Regions from separate parts of the Homo sapiens genome. Here all the other regions are linked to region 1. The links are contacts of gene promoters, found by promoter capture Hi-C in human tissues and cell types (Jung and others, 2019). All regions are on one chromosome and are shown on one strand. Each heading gives the region's core, a stretch centred on a gene start or on the middle of the fragment in contact. The rest is flanking DNA. Distances are from core to core; before and after follow the strand shown.

Region 1 (3,185 bases), core at 474-2,973:
GTCCCTGTTGGTGAGAGTAGGGGCCCCTGGTTACCTGAGGCTGGGGCTGCACATTCACGTAGCCAGGGTCCATGAGTGACACAGCGAGGTAGAGCAGCAGGGAGCCCAGCACCAGGAGCAGGAAGGTGAGGGGCAGGAGCAGCTCCCCCTGCTCCTCCCATTGCCGCAGCTCTGGAGAGGCCGGAGAGCACAGTGAGGCTGGGCCGGGTAGAACAGGAGTGGGTGGGGTTGGGGTGCAGTTGGAGGTGGGGAAGTGTGTTCCTGGCTGAGCAAAGGCCTGGAGATGTTGGTTCCATGAGTGGCTGTGTGTGGCCAGCAGTTCATCTGCACTTTTATCTGGAGGGTCAGAGGGAACCATGGAAGGTTATAGAGCCAGATCTGTTTTGGAAAACCTCATTGCTAAAGAAATGGATCAGGGGAAGCCTGGGGGCAGAGAATCTGGCCAGGAGGAAGAAGAGAGTCGCTACAAAGGCCTGGCAGGAAGTGAGGGAGGAAGGAATGGACAGGGGGCTGCTGGGTCAAGGGAGCCAGACCTGACTGGATGTGGGAGAGAGGGAAGAGGGGTCCAGCGTCTCTGGCTCTGCAATGGTGAGAGACTGGTTAGGTCTGAAATGCCTGAGAGAGATACAGTGGGAAGGGTGCAGCTGGCAGGCTCAGATGCTGCAGAGGGGCATACGGAAGGGTCCAGCAGGCTTCAGCCCAGGGAGGTGACAGGATTTTGGGGAGGTAGGGTGCAGGGCAAGGAGTGAGGGGGCATGAGACCACCAGACAGCAGAGTGTAGACAAATCCTGTGTCCCTTGGTTGTAAGGGGGAGCAGAGAAGAAAGGGTGGGTTTTGAGGGGGGTTTTCTGATACGGAGACCTGAGCAAGTTTTTAGGCTAAAGGGTGAAGGTGGTGGAGGAGGTCTGTCTTGGGAGGAAAGCCAGAAGGGGCCCCAGTCCAGAAACTGAGGCTGGACCGCCATGGAAGGAGGGCTGGGGTCTGCTGTGGGGGACAGTGGGGGAGGCTGCCTGTGGCAGGTGAGGCGCTGGGTAGGGGGCTACTAAGAGGAATGAGGGAAATGGAGGTGGGTGGGTGGGTGAATCTGTGGGAAGATGGGAGACAGGCCGCACCCCATGGAGTGTTCTCTGGCCTGAGGGTTTGCCTGGACTTGGGCAGCTAGTGGCCATGGGGGTGTGGGGGGTGTGGGTGTGGGCAGAATGCCAATCTTTGCATCTAGTTGAGCCTCCTAATCGTATGGATAGGAAGATTTGGGGTCAGTTCCTGGGAAGGATCATGTGGGTCCCAGGATCAGGGGACATGGGGCTCAAGTCGGTCCTTGGATCTGGTGGGCACCGGCTGGGTCCTGGGATGGACAGGGCATTTGGCAATGATCAGGAAGATGCTGGGATTAATTAGGGATCAACGGGGTATCAGACAGAGAGCAGGTGGCTCTTGGAATGATAGATGGGGAGAGGGCTTCAGGAGCTGGTGGAGATCGGGCCAATCCCAGGATCTCCAGGGATTAGGCGGGAGACCCAGTGTGACCAGAACGTCTGGGGAAGTACGCGGGATCGGGTGGGTCCGGGGTCGCTCGGGGTCCGGCTCACCGGTATCGTGCAGGAAGAGCACCAGCGTGATTCCCCAGGTCAGCACGGTGTGCCCGGTCCGCACCAGGACCCCAGGGCTGAGGAGCGCCCAGGGCGCCATCGCCTCGGCCCGGGGCCCCACCCGGAAGAAGCGCCCAGAGGGGCGGGCCCTCCGAGGGAGGGGAACGCCGCCGCCCGGGGACTGGTGGATCTAGGCGTTGGGCGGGGCCGGACTGGGTCAGGGAGGCTGCCTATTGGATGGCATCTGCGGCCGAATGGACCCTCAAGCCAACAGGTGCCTGAAGAGGCTGAGGGTGGGGCCGGCGCGCGCGCAGCTGGTAACTCCCTCAACTCCAGCCCCACCCGCCAGGTAACTTTTGAAAGCGCCGGAGCGCGCGCGCACCTCCCCCGCGCTCCGCTGTGCCCTCCCCCGCGTTCCCCTGTGCCCGCCCTCGCAGCCTCGCGCATGCGCGTAGCTCCCTGGGCGCTTCGAAGATCCAGCGGCTTGCTGTGAGTCCGGGAGGCAAAATTGTACCCATTTCAAAGATGTGATGACTAAAGTCTCGAGAGGGCCAAGGCTCGCCCAAGGTTGCTCTGTGGTGACAGCTTTACCTCCTTGCTATGTATTCTCAGATATTGCAAACGGACGAGAGAAAAGTGGAGGTACGTGGTGCACATTCTGACTATGGGTGATCCAACTTAGGCGGGAGTCAGAAATCCCAGCACTGCCCCTTCCTACCTGTGTGACCCTGGGCGAGTTACTGAGCCCCTCTGAGCTGTTTTCTGTCTCTATAAGGGGGATTACAATAGTGTCTTCCTCCTAAGGTGTTTGGGAGGATTAAATAATGGAAGCGCCTTGTCTAGCACGGGACTGTCTTGCCTCTCCTGCTGTGAGCCACCACCTACAGGCGGACTTTCCTCACCGGAGGCTGCAGGCTGTCCTCCTTCCCTGTGTCCCCAGGGCCTTCTCCACTCAGCCCCGCCTTTCCACAGCACCTCCCACTGATACCAGCATCCTCCTCCGCCTCCCTCTGATTGGCCCCATCCCAGCTCCTCCAGGATACTCCTCTGACATCTGTTGTTTTTCTCAGCTCAACATCCTTTTTTTGGTTGGGGAATCGACTTCCCATCCCATGTGATTGGAGGGACTGCCCCTCACCCCATAGGATGGCGAGCGGCAGGCTGTGGGCTTTCGACTCTGCAGAACCAATCACAGGCCTTCCATGAGATTACTGTCTAGATGCTGAGAGGAAGGAGCATTCTTTTGGATCTCAAGCCTAAGGAATGGGATATAAGGCAACTGGGAGCCGTCTTTACGCTGGGCGGAGAGGGCTTACCCTGTCTGTGGCTGGAGAAAATGAGACCAACTTATAAAGACACATAGAGATGGATAAGCAGCACTAAAGGAGGGAGCAAGAGATGGTCTGAACAACATTGTCTGAGCCCTCTAGATCCGGCTGTCCCTGAAGCTGATACTGACTCTGCATCCCCTGGTTGCAAGAGTCAATGAATGCCCACCTTTTTTTTTTTTTTTTTTTTGAGACAGAGCCTCACTCTGTTGCCTAGGCTGGAGTGCAGTGGCGCGATCTGGGCTCACTGCAACCTCCACCTCCCAA
Region 2 (3,185 bases), core at 424-2,923, 360 kb after region 1:
GATAGGGAGCCGATTACAGTCCAGTGAGGTCAGGGCTGAGAAAGGACAGGAAATGCAACCGTGAGAGCCCAGTACTGGCCCCTCACTTGACTGTGGAAACCTGTAAGCCGAGGAGACACCTGAACCAGATTGGGCCGGGCAAAGTAGGGCAGGAGAGGCAGTACATCCCACGCAGCAAAACAGCACATGGTGGCCAGGGGCGGTGGCTCACACCTGTAATCCCAGCACTTTGGGAGGCCGAGGTGGGCGGATCACGAGGTCAGGAGATCAAGACCATCCTGACCAACACGGTGAAACCCCGTCTCTACGAAAAGTACGAAAATTAGCCGGGCGTGCCACTGCACTCCAGCCTGGGCAACAGAGCGAGACTCCGTCTCAAAAAAAAAAAAAAAAAATTAGCTGGGCATGGCGGCTCACGCTTGTAATCTCAGCATTTTGGGAGCCGAGGCAGGTGGATCACCTGAGGCCAGGAGTTCGAGACCAGCCTGCCCAACATGGTAAGACCCGGTCTCTACTAAAAATGCAAAAATTAGCCGGATGCGGTGGTGCGCGCCTGTAGTCACAGCTACTCGGGAGGCTGAGACAGGAGAATCACTTGGACCCAGGAGGCTGAGCAAGATCGTTCCACTGCACTCCAGCCTGGGCCTCAGAGCAAGACCCTGTCTCAAAAAACAAACAAACAGACAAAAACAGCACATGCTAGCGGCAGGAGACAAGAGGCTGAGCCCTCCCAGCCCACCTTACCTGCACTGTAATCCAATCCAGCCAGAGACAGAGTCGGGTAGGAGAGGTGAAGGCGGGTGGGAAGGTGTGGCTGTTCACGCAGGAATGTCTTGGGAAAACTGAGGGGTAGGTGGAAAACCGACTTCTTGTTTGAAATGCTCCCAAGACGCCTCATTAAGTAGCATAGACGTGACTGAATCAATAAATCTTTATTAAATGAATGAAAGGAGGAAGGAGTCCTTAACTGTAGCTAAGCTTCCACTCTTAAGTATCAATTAAGCTTCTCTGTTCAGTCCAGCGTTTAGGGCGCCTACTGCGCGCCCCGCCCCACACACTTTTGACAAAAAGGTCGCCTGCTCTGTGTGACTTGCCCTTTCGCCGGCCAGTATGGGGCAGAGGGAAATAAGCCCCCTCTGCTCTCTGGTCTCAGTTTACTCGTAACTGAAAGTGGGTCGGTTCAAACCCCCTGGAGCTGAGGTTGCCTCTCCTCTTCGAGCACGCGCTATCGGACGCGCAGGTCCCCAAGACCGCGGATCGGCAGGGGGTACCAGGGAAGCCTTCATTCAGGGCGCAGGTCCCAGCCGAACCAAAGCTCCCACCAAAGTTCAACACGCCCCCAAAGCCAGCGCCTGATTGGCCCGCCCTGCCCACAAGCTGAGGCAGCCTCACCTTCTGATTGGCTGTTATGCTCCCTGTTCGGTGCTGGAACCCTCCCCTTCTCTGATTGGCCAGATGCCTACCTGCGCTCGCCCCAGATTGGGCGCCAGCTGGGGCGGCTCGTTGGCTCCCAGGGGCCCCGCTCTCTGATTCGCCGCTCGGGCCAGCCCCCACGGCCTGCACGCTGAATGGCTGCGCCGCTACCTATATTGGCCTCCGATTGGGTGCACGGCGCCTCCCCGGCGTGATAGGTCAGGACCACCGCCCCCCTGGCTCCCCATTGGCTGCTCGAAGAAGCCCGGTCTCCGGGTAAGATGGCAGCGGACGGACAGTGCTCGCTCCCCGCTTCATGGCGGCCGGTGACCCTCACCCACGTCGAATATCCTGCAGGTAAAAGGCGGTCCCGGCTCCAAGGACGCCTTCCCAGGGACGGCCTCTCAGTCCCGGGCGCTCCGGCCTGCTCGAGCCCGCGGAGGGGGCGCCGGGGGACCGGGGTGGGAACTGTCAAATAGTGAACCACGGAGGGGCTCGGCCGGCGCGCGCGCCGCGCAGGCGCAGTGGTGCGAGGATGAGCTGGGCGAAATTGTGAGGCGCTCGCTCGCGCACTCTGCGGCTGCGCGGCCAGGGCGCTCCCCCGGGTCCCGGGGCGCCGGTGGGCTGAAATGGGTTGAGGATCTGTGTGAGGCGAGAAAAGATCCCTGGCCTGGACCTTGGCCCTTCTTCCCCGCCCTCCCCTGTCCCAGAGAGGCCGCACTCCTGTTCCAGCGTGCAGGGAGTGTCTTGTTTCCTTCGAACAGTGCTTTGGGCTGCTTGTAAGAGAAAGAGCTCCCCGTTGCTGGGAGTGTGCAAGCCGAAGCCAGGCTTTTGAGTACTTGTGGTGCCACGCCCTGAGCAGGGCACGATTCCACAACAGAGAGGACCCGATGAGGGGGCGGGCAGCCTCCGGGAACTTGACTTCTGTTGCTTCCCATCAGACACACCTCTCGAAGTGCAGGGCTTTCCAGTTGAGAGGTCCATTAGCGGCGTTCTGGAGGCTGTCTAGTAAGAGTGGCGCAGAGCCTGGGCGTGGGGGTCAGACCCATCTGGGCTCCAGTTGAGGCTGAGGCCTTGTGCAGGTGCCTGCCTCTGCTTAAGTTAATTCATCTCTAAAGTGGGACTGATTACAGTGCTTACCTTCTGGTGATGGTATGAGCATCAAATAGCAGGAGGCACAAGAAGGGCTGAGTACAGTGCCCGGCATGCAGTAAGCGTTCAGTAAATACCTGCAGTTAATGTTATCCCACCTTGCAAGACCCTCCCTGGGTAAGATGGTTGAGTGCCAGGGAAGGCTGGAGCCCCTCATTGAGCCCTGGTTGCCTGGGAAGGGCCTGCTCATGCTGCTGTCTTGCGAGATGTGAGAACCTGGGTCCGCTGAGGGCACCAGGACTGAATGCCAAAGAACGTTGACGCTGGTGTTCTGGGTTGTACTGGGGGTGGTATGGCCCTGCCAGGTCCTGGGCCCTGCCTGCCTGCCTGTCTACCATTCATTCATCCATTCATTCATTCAGTCAATATCCACTGAACACTTCTGAGTGCTAGGCCCTGGGCTAGCTCTGGTTTTTAGAATGCTTAACAGGCCTGAAATATCCCTGCATTCCTGCACTATGAAAACCAGCTGCTTTATAAGAGGAAAGCCAAAGCCTGGAGGTGGGGAAAGACTTGCTAAGGCCTCTGCACCTTCACAGCTTCCCCTCCTGGCCTCAGAGTAGCTTCTTGGAGTGCTCACAATCCAACAAGCCAGAAGGAACCTGGCAGGCAGTTGTGTG
Region 3 (3,185 bases), core at 504-3,003, 320 kb after region 1:
CCATGGGTTGAAAAAGGTAGAGAAAATGTGGCTTAAAGCCCTAAGTCTGAGAGTGACCTGTCCACCTCCCAGGTTCTGGGTCCTCTCCTGGGCTGGCTGGCCAGAGATGTTTCCGCTCGCAGGGCCCCTGGTAGGCAGAGGGTCTGTGGGTGTGGGGCTGCCTGCTGGCGGGCAGATGCAGAGGCCTGGGGCCTGATTCCAGGCCTGGGGTTCCAGAGGCAAGCTTTGCTCCTGCCTCCTCCCCCATGGACGCTCTTCTTGAGTGCATTTCTGCATGTTCCCGTGTGCACGTTCTCTTATCTGACTTGGTCATCTGTCTCTTAGCTCTGTGGAGGGGCCCTCTGGTATGTGTGTCCCTGTCCTTCTGGGGCGTGGATGGTGCCTGGGACCCAGCTGGCAACCAGTTGAAGACGTTCTCCTTGGAAGCTCTTGGCCCTGAGGACTTTGCCTGGGGCATTGGCCCTGCCATGGCGTTCCGGAGGGCCGAGGGCACGTCTATGATCCAGGCCCTGGCCATGACGGTGGCCGAGATCCCCGTGTTCCTGTACACGACGTTTGGGCAGGTAAGGATCAGGGTGGGTTGTACCTCTGGTCTATGAAACACTTCCATGCTCAGCCAAGGGCTCCTCCGTGTCCAGGAACGCTGAGCCCTCGTTCTTGCTTTGCCAAACCTCTGGTGTCTCCTCTTTGGACTGGGTTTGTTGTCTGAGGCTTCAGGCCTGTTCTTTAGCCTGAGACTATACGAACTCTTTTTTTTTTAATTAATTAAAAAAATTGTATTGGCCGGGTGCGATGGCTCACGCCTGTAATCCCAGCACTTTGGGAGGCCGGGACGGGCGGATCACCTGAGGTCAGGAGTTCAAGACCAGCCTGGCCAACATGGTGAAACCCTGTCTCTACTAAAAATACAAAAATTAGGCGGGTAGGCTGGGCACAGTGGCTCATGCCTGTAATCCCAGCACTCTGGGAAGCTGAAGCAGGTGGATCACCTGAAGTCAGGAGTTCAAGACCAGCCTGACCAATATGGTGAAACGCTATCTCTACCAAAAGTACAAAAATTAGCCAAGCATGGTGGTGTGCACCTGTAGTCCCAGCTACTTGGGAGGCTGAGACAGAATTGCTTGAACCCAGGAGGCGGAGGTTGCAATGAGCTGAGATCATGCCACTACACTCCAGCCTGGGCGACAGAGCGAGACTCCGCCTCAAAAAAAAAAAAATTAGCTGGGCATGGTGGCAGGTGCCTGTAATCCCAGCTACTTGGGAGGCTGAGGCGGGAGGATCACTTGAACCCAGGAAGCGGAGGTTGCAGTGAGTCGAGATCGCACCACTGCACTCCAGCCTGGGCAACAGGGTAAGACTCCGTCTCAAAAAAAAAAAAGTTTTTCGTAATAGAAATAGGGCCTTGCCATTTTGCCCAGGCTGGTCTTGAACTCTTGGGCTCAAGCCATCCACCTACCTTGGCCTCCTAAAGTGCTGGGTTTATAGGCATGAGCCACTGCACCTGGTCCTATATGAACTCTTGACCTCAGTTACTCAGTCTGTAAAAGGGGTCAGTGCCCTCCCTGACAACTCACATGTTTGTGGCTGACTGGGATCTTGACCGAAGATCTGCCTTGTGGGGTACAGTCCCATCTGAGGGGCTCCCAGGCCTGGGGGGCAGAGGGTGAGGTGCAGCAGTAGGAATTGTTCAGATGGGGTGGCAGGTGAGTGAGTGTCATCATCTTTGAGGCATCACTGAGAAATGGGGGTCAGCAGATCTGGGTTTCATGTCTGCCTCTGTCACCTTGAGTATATGTCTTCATGTGGGTGAACCTCAGGTTCCTCGTCTGGAAATGACAGGGACTCAGATGGGTACCCCAGGCTAGGTCCTAGTGCAGTGCCGGGCACAGCTGGTGCTTGTTCACTGCGGCTTGTGTGCTCATGACTGAGGGTGCTGGCCCCTAGACCTCACCTTCTCGGCACTGGCATCTTGCCATCTTTATGTTTTTGTGGCCTGTGTTTCAGGGAGGCTGGTCAACTTCCCCGTCTAGGGTGGCTGCCTCTCAGTCTCTCATCTGGTCGGCAGATGTGCCGGAGAGCCGGTGTGTGTCCCGTCCCTGAGGTGCTCTGGGGCGGTCCTGCTGCCTTGGACCTTCCCCAGGGAGGTGTAACCGGCAGCGTCTCCTCTTCCCTGCAGTCTGCATTCTCCCAGCTACGGTTGACGCCAGGCCTGCGGAAAGTCCTCTTTGCCACGGCCCTGGGGACTGTGGCCCTGGCCCTGGCTGCCCACCAGCTGAAGAGGCGACGGAGGAGGAAGAAGCAGGTTGGTCCCGAGATGGGAGGGGAGCAGCTGGGCACGGTGCCCCTCCCTATCCTCTTGGCCAGGAAGGTCCCTTCAGTGAAGAAAGGTAGGTGTGAGGTGGTGGGCATAGGCCTGACCTGAGGTCACATCCTGGGGTCATATCCCAGCTGGGTCACTCTCTACTTGGGGATATTGGGCCAGTGTCTTCCTGTCTCAGAGCCAAGGTCTCCTGATCTGTGAGCGGGATGACAGTAGCGTCCCTCCCTCCAGTCACTGTACTGGAGGGTGATGTGGTTGGATGCGCATGCTCCATTGGTGGAGGTGGTTTTGGTTGTTCTCATTAGCTGAGGACCCTTTGGGAGCACCTTGGTCAGAGGGGGTCGGGGATGTGGCTCCTGGGTCCAGAGAGGGATGTTCCCCAGGCTGAGGAGCAGGAAGAGCCATGTGGTTCTTGAATGATGCAGTATTCCTCCCATTCCCTTCTCTCTTAAAAATTGAGGTTTAGGCCGGGCGCGGTGGCTCACGCCTGTAATCCCAGCTCCTTGGGAAGCCGAGGCGGGCAGATCACAAGGTTAGGAGATCGAGGCCATCCTGAATAACACGGTGAAACCCCGTCTCTACTAAAAATACAAAAAATTAGCCGGGCATGGTGACGGGCACCTGTAATCCCAGCTACTCAGGAGGCTGAGGCAGGAGAATGGCGTGAACCCAGGAGGCGGAGCTTGCAGTGAGCCGAGATTGCGCCACTGCACTCCAGCCTGGGTGACAGAGCGAGACTCCGTCTCAAAAAAAAAAAAAATTTGAGGGTTAATTTGCATGCAGTAAGATTCGTACTTTTTAGCATACTATTCTGTGTCTTTGACACATAGAGTCATCCGACCACCACCATAGTTAGGAATCATTC
Region 4 (3,185 bases), core at 93-2,592, 300 kb before region 1:
GCTGCCAGTGCATTCATTCTCTCGAGGAATCCCTGCAAACCCTCCCAGATGGGTGGCGTTATCAGCCCGATTTTACCCGAGAGGCTCCTGAGGGAAAGGGACCTGTCTGAGGTTGGTGACAGACACCCAGTTCGATCCCATCTGTGGTGCCGCCAGGCCGCTCCCTTTTCTGCTCCTCTCCCGAGAGGCTGCAGAGTTCTTTCCCTCCCAGCAGGGTCCTAAGGACCCCGGCGGTGCTCCAGGGGAGCCAACATCCCCTGCTTTGGAGGACGGACGGGTCGGGTCGCAGTGAGCAGCTCCGTGGTGTCCCCTAGTTCTACACTCAGACCAAGAGAGGGCTGTGAGGGCTGTGCTCTTTTTTTTTTTTTCTTTTTGAGACGGAGTCTCGGTCTGTCATCCAGGCTGTAGTGCAGTGGCGCGATCTCGGCTCACTGCAACCTCCGCCTCCCGGGTTCAAGCGATTCTCCTGCCTCAGCCTCCCAAGTAGCTGGGAGTACAGGCACCCGCCACGACGCCCGGCTAATTTTTGTATTTTTAGTACAGATGGGATTTCACCATCTTGGCCAGGCTGGTCTTGAACTGATCTCAGGTGATCCTCCCGCCTCGGTCTCCCAAAGTGCCGGGATTACAGGCGTGAGCTACCACGCCCGGCCTGGCTGTGCTCTCTTAAAGGGCCGAAGCAATGCGGGTGCTGGCGACCGACGCAAGGAGGTGACGCACAGGGGACTTAAGGAGCGGACCGCCGCGGGAGGACGCGCCCAGCTCAGGGGGACTCCCTCTGCGCCCCCCACGCTGGGTCTCCGGCCCACGCGTGGCCCGGCTGGTCTGCGGAGCTAGCGCCAGGGCCGCCAGAGGGCGCCCGGGGCGGAGGATGGGGCGGGAGCCGGGGAAGCCCGGGAGGTGGTGGCCGAGTGGGCGCCGCCCCTCTGGGTCTGCGGCTCAGGTCGAAGAGTCGGCTGCGTGGGCCGGGGAATCCGGATTCCGGGGGTTCAACGCCCAGGGGTTCCATGAGCCCCTACTGTTCTCGGACGCCCGGCCGGCCCCGACGCACTCGTCCTAGCACCCCTCCCCTGTCCGGTCCTCCGGCCCCTCCGCCGTCGCCCCTCCGGGGTCCAGCCGGGCGGGGCTGCTCCAGGGTCGCGGCTGGCGCGGGTCCCCGGGCCCTGGCCCTCCGGTGCCCCGGGCCAAGGAGAGAAAACTTGAGCATCCACGCACAGGGGTGGGGAGCAGGATCCCACTCTGAGGGTGCACTGCCCCGCCCTCTCCGGGTCTGCCTCGGCCCCGCCCGGGCCCCAGGCCCCGCCCCCTCCCCTCGGCCGGCCCGAGAGCTCCGGGGGCCGCTGCAGCCGCCCAAGCGCCCGCCATGCGCGCTGCCCGCGCCGCGCCGCTGCTCCAGCTGCTGCTCCTGCTGGGGCCGTGGCTGGAGGCTGCGGGCGTTGCGGAGTCGCCGCTGCCCGCCGTGGTCCTTGCCATCCTGGCCCGCAATGCCGAACACTCGCTGCCCCACTACCTGGGCGCTCTGGAGCGGCTGGACTACCCCCGGGCCAGGATGGCCCTCTGGTGAGAGACCCGGGCATTGGCACCGAGTGGGCACCTAACCCCCAGCTTCGCAGATGGCCCCCGCCCCCGGCGGCCCTGTCTGCTCGCTCCCTGCCCAGACACCACCTAGACAGGCCCCTCCCCTCACAGACGGCCCTGCCAGCCCGAGCCGCCAGAGAGGACCCCGAGCCCCCTGCTGGGAGACGACAGACCTCTGAGGCCACAGGCCGACGCGGGACACCCACCCCTCCTTCTGGTCCCCTACTCCTTCCTCTTGGGGCCTTCCCTGGGTGTAGGTTGGGCCCAGCCAGCCCTTTTCACCCCAGCCTTCAGGGCCCAGCTCAACCCCAGTGGGACCTGTGGTTGGCTGGATTTGAAGAGGAGCAGACAGGAACCTCTGAAGTCCACTGGGGCCCAACGTGGCAGGGATCGACCACGCTGGAGGCTTCCGGGCACAGGTTGGGGGTGCCATCAGCACTGGGCTCCGGGCTGTGCAGGGGAGTCAGACCGGCCCCCCCACCGCCCCCGTGCTGGGGCCAGCTCTCTTGGTAGATCTTGGTAGAGGGGCGGGATCCTGTCAGCCAAGGGCAGTCCCCCTTCCTGGAGCCTCTCCCCTCTGGCATCTCTGTACCCCCAGGGCACTGGGATCGAAGGCCACAACCCCTGGTCTGTAGACACCAGAACAGGGAGGAGTCCCTGGCTGAGGTTGGGGGTAAACTGAGAAAAATGACAAGCCACCCTCTTCAACACACCACAGTTGGGCTGGGGGGGTGGAGCCCTGGCCTGGGGAGGCCGCCCACAATTACCACAGTTTGGGAGTTTGTTAGTTCCCACCCCTGTAAGACTTGACACGTAGTCTTCATTTCTGGGGAATTGGCTTAAAGGGGCAGCATCACCCAAAACCTGGGCACTTGGCTAAACCCCCACCTCTGTTATGGGGGCCCCTTCCCCAGGAGAGGGGAGGCTGTGCCCCATGACAGCAGAGCTTGGACCCATCTGCATTCTTAGGGACGCTTAGAGCATGGTTTGGTCCTTATTACAACCTGGGGGTGGAGGAAAGCAGCAGCTCTTCTGTCTAGTCCCCATTCAGAGAGGGACAGGGGCTGGCCTGTGGTCACACAGCCACAGGTCACATAGGTAGGTATCTGCCCACCTAACGAAGGTAACCAGGGAATGCACCAGGTGTGATCCTTAAAGTCGAGGTACTTTTCATCTTTCAAAATGCATTCGTTGGCCAGGTGTGGTGGCTCACGCCTGTAATTTCAGCACTTTGGGAGGCCGAAGTGGGCAGATCACCTGAGGTGAGGAGTTCAAGACCAGCCTGGCTAACATGGTGAAACCCCATCTCTACTAAACAAACAAAAATTAGCCGGGCATGGTGGTGCACACCTGTAATCCCAGGTACTCAGGAGGCTGAGGCAGGAGAATCACTTGAACCCGGGAGGCGGAGGTTGCAGTGAGTCGAGATCATACCACTGCACTACAGCCTGGGCGACAGAGCAAGATTCCATCTCAAAAAAAATGCATTATTCTTCTCTTATCTTTGTCCATGACATAAGCAGGACAGCTTAAGTTATAGAGGGAGGACGTGAAGCCCAGAGAAAGATGGGACTTGCCTGAGGTCACACAGCAGGTCACAGAACTGT
Region 5 (3,185 bases), core at 472-2,971, 280 kb before region 1:
CCATGTAGCTGGACCACAGGCACATGCCACCATGCCTGGCCACATTTTTTTTTGTAGAGACTGGGTTTTGCATGTTGCCCAGGCTGGTCTCAAACTCCTGGGCTCAAACAATCTATCCACCTCGGCCTCCCACAGTGCTGGGATGAGAGGCGTGAGCCACTGCACCCTGCCACTTTATATATATACATATATATACACGTATATACGTATATATACACGTATATATACATATATACGTGTATATACACGTATATACACATACACGTATATACACGTATATACACATACACGTATATACACGTATATACACATACACGTATATACACGTATATACACATACACGTATATACACGTATATACACACACGTATATACACGTATATACACACACGTATATACACGTATATACACACACGTATATACACGTATATACACACACGTATATACACGTATATACACACACGTATATACACGTATATACACACACGTATATACACGTATATATACGTGTATATATGTACACATACGTGTATATACATGTATATATGTATACATACATATATATACATGTATATATATTTGTTTGTTTTTAAGACAGAGTCTCGCTCTGTCACCCAGGCTGGAGTGCAGTGGTGTGATCTCGGCTCACTGCAGCCTCCGCCTCTTGGGTTGAAGCGATTCTCCTTCCTCAGCCTCCCTAGTAGCTGGGATTACAGGCATGTGCCACCACGCCCAGCTAATTTTTGTATTTTTACTTTATATTTTTTAACTCATGGCTGAGCCTCTGCATCTCAGCTGGCCTGGGAGGAGGCTTCCTGATCTATGGTTGAGCAATTGGAGGGACAGAGAGGGGAGGACAGGTGAGGAGTCAGGCCGATCCAGCATCACCTCTGTGCTGGGTGATCTTGGGTGGGTGCCATCCCTTCCCTGGGCCTTAGTCTACTCTTCGGTCATTGTGGCTGGTTGGGTATAGAGTGGCCTAGCCTGAGCCCGGCTCACAGTGAGTGCTCACCTGTTGGGGCTGATGTGGTCATCCCCGAAGTCATTACCAGCCTCACCTTGCTGGTCAGGGTGGGCCCAGCCAGTCCAAGGGCTGCTGATGTCCCCCGGCCCTTTGGATCATCTCTTGTGCAGCTGAAACCCTGGCTTAGGGGAAGAGGAACCGCCTGGGAGGGGCTGGGGGAGATCCTGGGTTCCCCTCTGGCACTAACCAATGTGGCCACCAGAGGGCGCAAGGTGGCAGAGCCTGGACTTGGCCAGGATGCTCTCTGCTGGGTTGGGGCCAACACCAGGAAGGAAGCATGGGCCATAGGGAAGCTCCCATTGGTGCTGGGGCAACCCGCAGCAGCTCTGCGTCTTCTGCTCTTCTGATGGGAACTGCAGGCCTCTCCCCTGGCCCCAGAGAGTCGGGCTTCTGGGCCCAGCCGCTGTCTGTCATGCCTGCACTCAGGCAGCTGGAGGGGTGGGAGGGGAGATGGCTCCTGGCCTTGGCCATGGCTGCTTTGGCTTCCACCGTTCCTGCTCCTCTTCCATGTGGCCCCCTGACTTGGTTGTGTGAGCACTCCAGTCCTGGCAGAGCCTGACAGGCACTCCCTGAGGTTGGGGTATCCCTTGGCTCTGTCCTGGGGTTGAGGTCCAGGACCTGGCACGGCTGTGAGAAGGACCTTGGGCTGGAGCTGTGGACTCGGTGCTTTATTCGTTCTAAGATGAAAGTCATTCATTCTGGATGGCTATGACCTTGAGCGACTCACTTCTCTCCAGGCTCCAGGTGTCCCCTTCATTCATTTGTTAACCTTTATTAAGCACCTCCCATGGGCCGCAGTCAGGCCCTGGGGATTCAGCAGTGAATGAAACTGACAAAACCCCTGACCTCATTAAACTGACATTCTTTTTTTTCTTTTTTTTTTGTGGCGGAGTCTCACTCTATCACCTTCTGTCACCACACCCGGCCAAAACTGACATCCTAATGAGGGATGCAGACAAAAACAAAGAAAGATCAGAGGGTGTGAATTGCTATAGAGAAAAATGAGAAGCGGAGAGATACAAAGTAAGATCTGAGAAGTTAACACCTGAACAAAGACGCAGGAGTGGGCCAGGCATAGTTGCTCATGCCTGTAATCCTAGCACTTTGGAAGGCCTAAGCAGATGGATCACTGGAGGCCAGGAGTTTGAGACCAGCCTGGCCAACATAGGGAAATCCCATCTCTATTAAAAATACAAAAATTAGTCAGGTGTGCTAGCGGGCGCCTGTAATGCCAGCTACTCGGGAGACTGAAGCAGGAGAATCACTTGAACCTGGGAGGTGGAGGTTGCAGTGAGCTGAGCTTGCACCACTGCACTCCAGCTTGGGCGACAGAGTGAGACTCCATCTCAAAAACAAAAGACTTCGCCAGGCAGGGTGGCTCACACCTGTAATCCCACCATTTTGGGAGGGCGAGGCAGGTGGATCACGAGGTCAGGAGTTCAAGACCAGCCTGGCCAAGAGGGTGAAACCCCGTCTCTACTAAAAATACAAAAATTAGCCAGGTGTGGTGGTGGGCGCCTGTAGTCCCAGCTACGTGGGAGGCTGAGGAAGAGAATTGCTTGAACCTGGGAGGCAGAGGTTGCAGTGAGCCGAGATCAAACCACTGCACTCCAGCCTGGGTGACAGAGTGAGACTCCGTCTCAAAAAAAAAAAAAAAATAGACAAAAAAAAAAAAAAAAAAGACTTTAAGGAGGGGAGGGGCTGAGCCTTGGGGATAGCAAAAGGAAGAGCTTCCAAGCAGAAGGAACAGCATATGCAAAGGTCCTGAGGCAGAAGCAGGACTGACAGTGCAGAAGAGAGGAGGACCAGTGTCTAGAGTTGATAGAGCCAAGGCTGGGGCCAGAGCAGGGATGGCCATGAAGGCCATTTTGGCTTTTACTCTGAGATGGAGCCCCCAGAGAGATGGAGGCAAAGAAGTAACCATCTAACTTACATTTTTACATGATCACCCTGGCAGAGATGTGGCATGATCTCATGTAGTGTTATAAGATCACACCGGCTACTGTGCTGAGAATAAACTGTAGGCAGGTCCATGGAAGAAACAGTGAGACCAGTTAGGAACCCACTGTAATAATTCAAGCATGGCTGGGCGTGGTGGCTTATGCGTATAATCCTAGCACTTTGGGAGGCTGAGACGGGTGGATCACCTGAGGTCAGGAGTT
Region 6 (3,185 bases), core at 382-2,881, 260 kb after region 1:
CCTATGAGTTGTCAGGGTATTGTAACTAGTTAGAGTGAGAATTTGGCTTTGAAAAGAACAATTTCTCACCAGTACTTGCTCTGAGCATTGACAACAGTCTCAAACCTCAAGATCCAACTGATGATCTACCTGTGTATTTTACCCTCTTTTTTGTAAGATGCTGTCTGATGTTATAGAACCACAGTGCTCCTGGGAGAAGGAGAAGCTGGTATGAAACAGTATCTAGAGTGAGGATCTGTGGTTGCTGTGTGGTAGCCAACTGCTGACATAGTTGGGTAATTTGCACTTTAGTGGAAACATGTAATGCACAGGTGAACAATACTGTCTTCCCATAGAAAGGATGGCTGGGAAGAGGTCACTGGATAGAATAGTAATCTTTTTTTAGGTCCCTCACTAAATCAATTATTTTATATCCTTTTTCAGTGGAAATATGAAAGTCTTAAATTATTAAGGAGGGATGATATCTGTCTAAAAGGAAGGATTAATTCTAAATTTTCTCATGATTGCTGGGAAATTTGGAGAGATGTTAATTTGTGGATAATGTGAAGATCAGTGATTTGTCCCCTTCCACCACAGGAGCCAACTTCTGGCCTTGGGATCATTCTGGACAGTGTGTGTGGAATGTTTCCCCACCTTCTCTCCCCACTCCTGCAACTGCTCCGAGCCCTGGTATCAGGGAAGTCCACAGCCAAAAAGGTAAGTTGCTTAGTCAGATAAGTAAAGAGAATGGGAGATTCTTTATGGAGACTTTATTAGGAATCTTTTTTGCTTTCCACATTGCAGTTCTACTGCCATGACAAAAGTTTGTCTGAAGGTGAATGAAAGATACCAAAGATAGCACCTCAATTCTAAAAAATTAAATAATCTTTTCATTAAGTACCTATTGTAGATACTGTGGGACTAAGACTAAGTATAAAGTTCCTTAATATCTAGTTGGAAGTTACTAGATATAAGAAATAAATAGCTAAGAGCCAGGTGGTACAGAGTAAATGTCATTTGAGCAATAAAGACCATACTGTTCAGGAGAGATAACTGCCCTTGTGGAGTGATGGGGACTTGAGTTGAGTGTTAAAGCCCAGTGAAGATTTGGCGAGGGGCGCAGAAGGCAGTTCCAAGAACAGTCACAGTGGTGGGCTTGCAAGAAGTTTGAGAGTCTGGTTGAAAGAGCAGACTGTGGGACCTCTCCTTGCTTATCCTGGAGGGAAATGTGTGATGGTTTTTTCTGTTTTGGCAGGTGTATAGCTTCTTGGATAAGATGTCTTTCTACAATGAACTTTATAAACACAAGCCTCATGATGTGATCTCCCATGAAGATGGAACTCTTTGGCGGAGACAAACACCCAAACTCCTTTATCCCCTTGGTGAGATAAAGAGATCCCCCTTTTATGACAGCTTTTTTTTTTTTTGATGTCTTGCTCTGTCACCCAAGCTGGAGTGCAGTGGCAAGATCATAGCTCACTGCAGCCTCAAATTCTTGGGCTCAAGTGATTCTCCCACCTTAGCCTCCCAAAGCACTGGGATTATAGACGTGAGCCAATGCATCCAGGCAGTTACACTCTGAGGCTCACATCTGTACCAGGTGCTCAAAGAGGAAAATATACAGGGAATAGCCTCACCGTTTTAATCCTGGCATCATCACCACTGACTTCTCCAGTCATCTAGGCACTAACAGTCCTATGAGGTACTGTTGTTATCATCATTTGAATGGAAAACTGTTCTTTGCACTCAAGTGATTTTCAGACATATAGAAAGAGTCACTTGTCGGCCAGGTGTAGTGGCTCACGCCTGTAATCCCAACACTGGGATTACAGGCCAAGGTGGGCGGATCACGTGAGGTCGGGAGTTCGAGACCAGCCTGACCAACATGGAGAAACCCCGTCTCTACTAAAAATATAAAATTAGTCGGGCGTGGTGGTGCATGCCTGTAATCCCAGCTACTCGGGAGGCTAAGACAGGAGAATCGTTTGAACTTGGGAGGCAGAGGTTGCAGTGAGTTGAGATCGCGCCATTGCACTCCAGCCTGGGCAGCAAGAGCAAAACTCCATCTCAAAAAAAAAAAGACACTTGTCTACATGACAAGAACTTTTTTGTGTATTTTAGTTGAAAAAGCTTTAGGAATGTTAGCTACTAAGAAGAAAGCCTGTGAATCCCAGAACTTTGGGAGGCCAAGACAGGCAAATCACTTGAAGCCAGGAGCTCAAGACCAGCCTGGTCAACATGGAAAACCCCATCTCTACTAAAAATACAAAAATTAGCCAGGAGTGGTGGTGCGCACCTGTAGTCCCAGCTACTTGGGAGGCTGAAGCACGAGAATCACTTGAACCCAGGAGGTGGAGGTTGCAGCGAGCCGAGATCGCGCCACTGCACTCCAGCCTGGGCAAGAGGGAGACTCTGTCTCAAAAAAAAAAAATGTCTGTGAGTTTGTGTATCTCTGTGTGTTTAAAATATTGATGTCTGGTAGAGGAGTTACATTTTTTATTTATCCTCAGATATTAGACTAATTTATCTTTCTCTCTCAGGGGGTCAAACCAACCTTCGCATACCTCAAGGCACTGTGGGCCAAGTAATGTTGGATGATAGGGCATACCTGGTACGCTGGGAATACTCCTATAGCAGCTGGACCCTCTTTACCTGCGAGATTGAAATGTTGCTTCATGTTGTTTCAACTGCAGGTAAGGTCAGCTTTCGGAAACATCACCTACGAGGAGGAAAAGTGGATATGCTTGGAGGATTTAGAAAATAGAATATCTACATAAAATTTAGAACCATCAAGATTGTGATTTGTCTGATTTGTGTATCTGGGTCTCAGAGACTGTTCAGTGATCTTAAAGGGGTTGTTTGCCGTGAGGTCACAGGCTGTCTTTCTTCTCAGATGTGATTCAGCACTGCCAGCGAGTCAAACCCATCATTGATCTCGTCCATAAGGTCATCAGTACAGACCTGTCGATAGCAGACTGTCTCCTGCCCATCACATCTCGCATCTACATGCTGCTGCAGCGGTGAGTCTGTCTTGGCTGACCCTCAGCTGCCCAGTAGAGATCTCAGCACTTGTGCCCTCAGTTTGCAGGAACCTGGACACATACCCACTGGGTTAAAGTTCGCGCATATTCCTTGGTTTTCCTGTTTTTATATCTGTGAGGGTTTTCCTGTTTTTATATGTCTGCTGAGGGGAGAGACTGGGGAGA

What was found. The method cuts DNA at HindIII sites, captures the fragments that hold promoters and counts their contacts. A contact is called where the count stands out against the background at its distance.
Region 2: the fragment with the promoter of DOLPP1 here is called in contact with the fragment with the promoter of ZDHHC12 in region 1 in 3 of the 25 tissues and cell types used here (lymphoblastoid cells, mesenchymal stem cells and mesendoderm cells).
Region 3: a fragment that was not itself captured here is called in contact with the fragment with the promoter of ZDHHC12 in region 1 in 1 of the 25 tissues and cell types used here (dorsolateral prefrontal cortex).
Region 4: the fragment with the promoter of CERCAM here is called in contact with the fragment with the promoter of ZDHHC12 in region 1 in 6 of the 25 tissues and cell types used here (adrenal gland, dorsolateral prefrontal cortex, liver and 3 more).
Region 5: a fragment that was not itself captured here is called in contact with the fragment with the promoter of ZDHHC12 in region 1 in 2 of the 25 tissues and cell types used here (dorsolateral prefrontal cortex and spleen).
Region 6: a fragment that was not itself captured here is called in contact with the fragment with the promoter of ZDHHC12 in region 1 in 3 of the 25 tissues and cell types used here (dorsolateral prefrontal cortex, neural progenitor cells and stomach).

Annotation. Positions count from the first base shown.
Region 1 is chr9:128,722,404-128,725,588 of GRCh38, forward strand. It overlaps ZDHHC12 (zDHHC palmitoyltransferase 12), which reads right to left and starts at 1,724. Exons shown (of 5, transcript NM_032799.5): 1 at 1,591-1,724; 2 at 35-171. The coding sequence starts at 1,690. ZDHHC12-DT (ZDHHC12 divergent transcript) reads left to right here and starts at 2,059. Exons shown (of 2, transcript NR_046240.1): 1 at 2,059-2,232. RefSeq lists a silencer at 1,613-2,092. The HindIII fragment of the contact is 17,684 bases long and covers 1-3,185 here.
Region 2 is chr9:129,079,438-129,082,622 of GRCh38, forward strand. DOLPP1 (dolichyldiphosphatase 1) reads left to right here and starts at 1,674. Exons shown (of 8, transcript NM_020438.5): 1 at 1,674-1,770. The coding sequence starts at 1,695. RefSeq lists a silencer at 1,372-2,101. The HindIII fragment of the contact is 10,069 bases long and covers 1-3,185 here.
Region 3 is chr9:129,040,128-129,043,312 of GRCh38, forward strand. MIGA2 (mitoguardin 2) reads left to right here. Exons shown (of 16, transcript NM_001329990.2): 2 at 325-563; 3 at 2,177-2,387. The coding sequence starts at 468. Among named protein-coding and RNA genes, the nearest start is that of MIGA2, 5.1 kb to the left of the region's middle. The HindIII fragment of the contact is 5,202 bases long and covers 1-3,185 here.
Region 4 is chr9:128,419,515-128,422,699 of GRCh38, forward strand. It overlaps CERCAM (cerebral endothelial cell adhesion molecule), which reads left to right and starts at 1,343. Exons shown (of 13, transcript NM_016174.5): 1 at 1,343-1,560. The coding sequence starts at 1,364. RefSeq lists a silencer at 729-1,628 and an enhancer at 1,889-2,078. The HindIII fragment of the contact is 34,497 bases long and covers 1-3,185 here.
Region 5 is chr9:128,437,581-128,440,765 of GRCh38, forward strand. No RefSeq gene overlaps it. Among named protein-coding and RNA genes, the nearest start is that of ODF2, 17 kb to the right of the region's middle. RefSeq lists a silencer at 1,038-1,211. The HindIII fragment of the contact is 5,750 bases long and covers 1-3,185 here.
Region 6 is chr9:128,980,030-128,983,214 of GRCh38, forward strand. NUP188 (nucleoporin 188) reads left to right here. Exons shown (of 44, transcript NM_015354.3): 14 at 577-696; 15 at 1,235-1,361; 16 at 2,520-2,672; 17 at 2,873-2,999. Among named protein-coding and RNA genes, the nearest start is that of NUP188, 34 kb to the left of the region's middle. The HindIII fragment of the contact is 8,140 bases long and covers 1-3,185 here.